Regions from separate parts of the Homo sapiens genome. Here region 1 is linked to region 2. Evidence: promoter capture Hi-C in human tissues and cell types (Jung and others, 2019). All regions are on one chromosome and are shown on one strand. Each heading gives the region's core, a stretch centred on a gene start or on the middle of the fragment in contact. The rest is flanking DNA. Distances are from core to core; before and after follow the strand shown. Region 1 holds the start of FOXK2-AS1 (FOXK2 antisense RNA 1). Region 2 holds the start of RAB40B (RAB40B, member RAS oncogene family).

Evidence for each region. The method cuts DNA at HindIII sites, captures the fragments that hold promoters and counts their contacts. A contact is called where the count stands out against the background at its distance.
Region 1: a fragment that was not itself captured here is called in contact with the fragment with the promoter of RAB40B in region 2 in 4 of the 25 tissues and cell types used here (dorsolateral prefrontal cortex, lymphoblastoid cells, pancreas and 1 more).

Annotation. Positions count from the first base shown.
Region 1 is chr17:82,586,042-82,588,541 of GRCh38, forward strand. It overlaps FOXK2 (forkhead box K2), which reads left to right. Exons shown (of 9, transcript NM_004514.4): 7 at 1-159; 8 at 1,022-1,231. FOXK2-AS1 (FOXK2 antisense RNA 1) reads right to left here and starts at 2,381. Exons shown (of 3, transcript XR_001753132.3): 1 at 2,215-2,381; 2 at 1,189-1,433. RefSeq lists a silencer at 1,478-1,678. The HindIII fragment of the contact is 6,150 bases long and covers 1-2,500 here.
Region 2 is chr17:82,696,481-82,699,986 of GRCh38, forward strand. RAB40B (RAB40B, member RAS oncogene family) reads right to left here and starts at 2,218. Exons shown (of 6, transcript NM_006822.3): 1 at 1,975-2,218. The coding sequence starts at 2,116. RefSeq lists silencers at 1,947-2,376, 2,397-2,786. The HindIII fragment of the contact is 28,650 bases long and covers 1-3,506 here.

The DNA.
Region 1 (2,500 bases), core at 1-2,500, 110 kb before region 2:
TCGTCCACCAGATCCCAGCGGTGTCGGTCACCAGTGTGGCCGGACTGGCCCCAGCGAACACGTACACTGTCTCTGGACAAGCTGTGGTCACCCCGGCAGCCGTGCTGGCCCCTCCTAAGGCAGAGGCCCAGGAGAATGGAGACCACAGGGAAGTCAAAGGTAGGCGGAGGGGAAAGGAGGAGAGGGGAGACCACAGGGAGGTGAAAGGTGGGCCGGGGGGGGAAAGGAGGAGAGGGGAGACCACAGGGAGGTCAAAGGTGGGCCGGGGGGGAAAGGAGGAGAGGGGAGACCACAGGGAGGTCAAAGGTAGGCGGAGGGGAAAGGAGGAGAGGGGAGACCACAGGGAGGTGAAAGGTGGGCGGGGGGGAAAGGAGGAGAGGGGAGACCACAGGGAGGTCAAAGGTGGGCCGGGGGGGGAAAGGAGGAGAGGGGAGACCACAGGGAGGTCAAAGGTGGGCCGGGGGGGAAAGGAGGAGAGGGGAGACCACAGGGAGGTCAAAGGTAGGCGGAGGGGAAAGGAGGAGAGGCTGCCCCATCAGCCTCACACTCTGGGAAGTCCATAAGATTTGCTCATCCTTGGCCAGGTACAGTGGCTCACACCTGTAATCCCAGCACTATGGGGGGCTGAGACGGTCGGATCACCTGAGGTTAGGAGTTGGAGACCAGCCTGACCAACACGGAGAAACCCTGTCTCTACTAAAAATACAAAATCAGCTGGGCATGGTGGCGGGTGCCTGTAATCCCAGCTACTCGGGAGGCTGAGGCGGGAGAATCACTTGAACCCGGAAGGTGGAGGTTGCAGTGAGCTGAGATTGCGCCATTGGACTCCAGCTTGGGTAACGAGCGAAACTCCATCTCAAAAAACAAAAAAAAGATTTGCTCATCTTTTTCTAATTTGCTGTTTGTTTTAGAGACATTTTCTAGCAGGTGTGATAGCTATCTGGTTATTATGTTTTAAACTGGCAAGATTTTTATTTGCTTTCCAGTAATATTAATGTCGTTTCTTTTCCTTTAATTTCAGTGAAAGTAGAGCCTATTCCCGCCATTGGCCACGCCACGCTCGGCACTGCCAGCCGGATCATTCAGACGGCACAGACCACCCCGGTCCAGACGGTGACCATAGTACAACAGGCACCTCTAGGTCAACACCAGCTACCAATAAAAACTGTAACACAAAACGGCACTCACGTGGCATCAGTCCCCACTGCGGTCCACGGCCAGGTGAACAATGGTAAGACATGCTGGTCGGTGGCTCCCCGTGGCTGTGGGTACTGGGAGCAGAGCCCCTTCTCACTCGTGGTTTCGGTTCTGACTGTAACAATTTTAGCTTTTGTCTGAGGCAATGTTTGCATTTCGAAGCTGCAGGAAATCTAGTCATGCTGGGGAAGTGGTCGTGGAGTCGGCCGTCATGGGATTCCCGTGGGAGGACCTGCCTGAAAAGAGATGAGAGTTTCTAATACATTGAGAGGGAAAAATACTCTCGCCTCTTGTAGATTTCCTGGGTGTGGCCTGGAAGCGGCCTGAAACGGCGGGAGCCGCCGCGTGTCTTTTCCCTTGGCCTCGCGCGCCCTGTGGCCTGTGGCGGTGCTATGCTGCTGAGGGTGGGAGAGAGGCTGCTTTTCTGTGCGCTTTGCTCTCAGAGTCCGTCCGAGGCCGGTGCACAGAAAACCGCACGGATGTTCTGACATTGACAAGTGGAGACACCAGAACCTCCGCGCCGACACCGGGTTATCTACCTTCGCCCTGCCCTGTGGAGTGTGGAAAGGGTGGGAGTCCCTGCTGGCTGCCGAGTCAACTCTGGCATTGGGGCCTGGCTCAGGTGTGGGCTCCCGCTGCTCTGGGTTGGGTACATGTGGGCTGTTGCCGGCTGTGTGGCTGATCCTGGCGCTTGCGGGATCTCAAGCAGGCAAATCCGAAGCTACCGACTAAAACTGTCTCTGTGCCCACGACACGCTTTCTTTGAAAGAGGGTACAGGTCAGAAGGCTTTATCACGACGTTTGAATCCTTACCGAACGCTACGAACAGAGACCTTGAAACCTGCAGGTACCTCCTACTCTGACTCAGCACCACCCTGCCTCTCCCCAAATTTATGGAAGAACAAGGTCTGGAACCTTTTCTAGGGAAGACTGACTACCTGGGGTTTTTTTTGTTTTTAAGTAATAGCAACACTTGCTGCCTGTAGATAGATCGCAGAGTTTGCAGTCATCAGTTACCTGTTTGAATGCCTTCGTCCCCAAGCCCTGTGTCTCCTCCTTCTCTTCTCTCTGGGTAACTGTGGCTGTGGATGCTCTAAGGTGATAAACCTGGTGGCACTGCAGGTAGCTGGGAGGAGATGGAAGCCGGGAGGGCTGGCGATTGGAGGGCAGGCGGTTGGAGGGCTGGCTATTGGAGGGCAGGCGGTTGGAGGGCTGGCGGTTGGAGGGCTGGCGGTTGGAGGGCAGGCGGTTGGAGGGCAGGCGGTTGGCTTTCTGGTCTTAGTCACTCCCAGTCTGAAGACAA
Region 2 (3,506 bases), core at 968-3,467:
GGTGCTTTATTCCTGTAGCTCTGGTAGGGTTCATCCCTCACTGAGCCCAGACCCCGAGGGCACAGTGCAGACAAAGCCCTGTCCTCCAGGCGCTCAATCTCCAGCCCTGTCCTCCAGGCGCTCAATCTCCAGCCCTGTCCTCCAGGCGCTCAATCTCCAGCCCTGTCCTCCAGGCGCTCAATCTCCAGCCCTGTCCTCCAGGCGCTCAATCTCCAGCCCTGTCCTCCAGGCGCTCAATCTCCAGCCCTGTCCTCCAGGCGCTCAATCTCCAGCCCTGTCCTCCAGGCGCTCAATCTCCAGCCCTGTCCTCCAGGCGCTCAATCTCCAGGGCAGCGCTGGCCCTCGGACTTTGCCACAGCGACATCCGAACTATCTAGAAATGTGACGAATGGAAGCTTTTTGTTTTCTTTCCTTCTAATTACACTTCCACAGCCACACGTGGCTCATGGCATCCTACTGGACACCACGGTCCTAGAGACCTGCCACCGAGCGGGGAGGGGGGTAGGACATGCGGGGGCAGCGGCGCCTGGGGACAGGTAGAGACGCAGGCTCCCCTCCTGCCCCACGGAGCACACTCTGCACCCACCAGCTGCCAGAGACTCCCCCGCATGCTGCAGTTTCAGGAGGCCTCTGGGTGCTGGTCGTGAGCCCAAGCCCATCTCAGCTGCTCCCCCAAACTCTGCCCATTCCTCACCCCGTCCCCTAAGCTGAGGTGTGGCCGGGCACCTGAGTCCCACCCCACGCTCCACAGTCTCAGGCCACCCCCTCCAGCCGTGCCACACTCCCTTGGTGCTCACGCCGCCTGCCTGGAGCTGCCCTTAGGGGACAGCCTGCACCCTCTACCGAGCAGCCTCAGATCCCGCTTCCTCCCACCCTCTCCCGCTAAGTTCGTCTCTGGCAGGACCCTGGACCTGGGGCTTCCCAGACCCTTCCCAGGCCCCAGAGCTGACAGGTCCTTCCCACCAAGACTCCATCTCCACGCCCGGCTGCCCTCCTCCGCCCAGGACTCAGAGCGGGTCTCTGTTGGAAGCGTGGGTTCAGCCCCGAGGCGCGGCAGGAAGGTGGGCACAGGCTGGGCTCCTTCCACAGCCTCAGGGTCGGCCTCGTCCAAGCTGTTCCAGGGATGCGCGTGGGTGAAGGCCCCGCCTGCTCCTCACTCCCAGCCGAGGTGTTCGCCTCTGCGCGTTCCCCCTTCTCCTGGGTTCCTGCCCCCGCCTTTCTTTCCCCGGAGCCGTCCACCCCCTCGCCGGGCGCCGGCTTTCAAGCCTCAAACTTGGGGGATCCCCGGGCTGCCTGCCTGGGAGCTCTGGGCGCTCCGGCCTCCCCTCGCCCTGGAACCCGCTCTCCGGCCGCTGTCGTGGGGGGTCCCCTCTTCCGCACGCGAGTCACCTGTGCTCCTTCCTCTCCCCCGGACACGCGGGACCCCTGGCCTCGGGACCGGACCCTGGTCTCCCCTCCCCTCCGACCCACGCGCAGACCCAGCACCTGGGCGCCTGCTCGCCGCGCTCCGCCCCAGGAGCCCCGGAGCTCGCGTCCCCTCCCGCCCCTCCTGCCCCGCGGCCGAACGCGCACTTGCGGACTCGAGCCCCCGCCCCGGGTCCCCACAGCAGCGGCCCCAGGTCGGGAGGAGCCCAGCGCCCGGCCCAGCCGCGGGCTCCCGCTGCGCGCAGACTGCGGAGAAGGATGGAGACTGCGCCGCGGGGCCTCGAGTGGAACTGGGGGTGCAACAGGGACGCCGCAGCACGAGGGCCAGGGCCGGGCGGAGAAAGGCCCGCCCGCGAACCGCGCTCCTCCTCAGCCCCGCGCCCCCGGACCGGGACTCCTACCCTCCCCGGCCACGCGCCCCGGCCTCTTCCCGACCCCTGCCCGGTCTCGCGTCCCCGGACCCGGACCCCCACCCGCACCCCCTCCCCAGCCCCGCGCCCCTCCCCGGCCCCGCGCCCGCACCCCGGCACGCCCTCCGCCCGCGCTCACCCGCCGGGTGGCCGTACGGGGACTCGGCCGCGCCATCCTGCAGGCTCGCCAGGATCTCGCCCTTGCCCACGTCGCTGTCGCCCACCAGCAGGAACTTGAGCAGAAAGTCGTAGGCCCGGACCGGGCTGCCCAGGGCGCTCATCGTGACGGCCCGGCGCCCCCACCCATGCCCGGCCTGCGGGGCTGAGCGCAGAGGCGGCGGCCCGGCCCCGAGAGGCGCCGCGCGGGCCCCGAGTCCTTGCTCGCCTCCGGCCCCGCCCCGCCGCCCAGCGCTGACAGCGCGCATCCCCGCCCGGCCCCGCCATTGGTGGACCGCAGTTGCTAGGGCAGCTGCGCGCTTTCACTGGCTTGGTTGTCCGTCCATCTTACTCTCGTCACCGCCTCCGGGCTGTCGCCCACCCGCCCCTCCTGAAAGGTCGCTGTCACCACAGCCAATGGAGGCCCGGAGACGGGGCAGGGGCGGAGCCAGAACAAGCAGGAGGCGGGGACTCTGCTCCCGCAGCCAATGGCGGGGCGGGGTGGGGGCGATCAGGGGGTGGGGCCGGGTGTTTACACTCTCGCGTGCGCCCGTGAGCGCCACGAACTCGCTCCCACGGTCGTCGGGTCTGCACGCCCCGAGTCGGGAGGGGCGAGGGGCGGTGCAGGGTCCCAGCGTGGGGCCTCCCCACCTGCCCACCAGGGAGACCTCGGGTGCCTGGCCGGGTGGGGCTCGGGGTCGGTCCAGTTGGCGGACGCGGCCGGAAGGCCCCCGCAGGCCGCCTCGCCGGAGGAGTCCCTGTCGCCGTAGAATCCAGGCTCGCGGTCTCTCCCCACGGTTCATCCAGGGCCTCGTCGTTGCCCCATTTACGCGGCGTGCCTGAATGCCTGTGTGTGCACATGCGCCTGTGTACGTGTGCATGTGTTCGTGTGTGTGCATGTCTGCGTGTGCATGTGTGCCTCTGCAGATATCTGCACATGTATGTGTCTGCGTGTGCATGTGTCCCTCTGCAGGTGTCTGCACATCTATGTGTCTGCGTGTGCATGTGTCCCTCTGCAGGTGTCTGCACATGTATGTGCGTGTGCATGTGTCCCTCTGCAGATGTCTGCACATCTGTGTGTCTGCGTGTGCATGTGTGCCTCTGCAGGTGTCTGCACATGTATGTGCGTGTGCATGTGTGCCTTTGCAGGCATCTTTGCATGTGTGTGTCTGCGTGTGCTGCTTCTATGCATGCGCTCCTATGTGTGCGTGCGCTTGTTTGTGCATCCATGCATGTGTTTGCGTGCGTGCTGGAGGAGAGCATTGGGTGGGACCCTCCAGCCTTTTGGCTTCTCCTCTGCTCTAGAGAGCAAGGGTTGCCAGGCCGAGGTCTGCCCTTCGCTCTGAGGGTCTCACCAGGTGCACATTGGTTTATTTGGTGCAGAATTCAGGCAGCAGGCAAAGGGCGAGCTCCGTCCAAGAAGAAGGATAATGCCCCCACTACTTCATCCCCTCCACCCTGCGTTGTGTAGGGAACTGCTCTAGACCCCATTAGAAGTTTTTTGTGGGGGAGGAA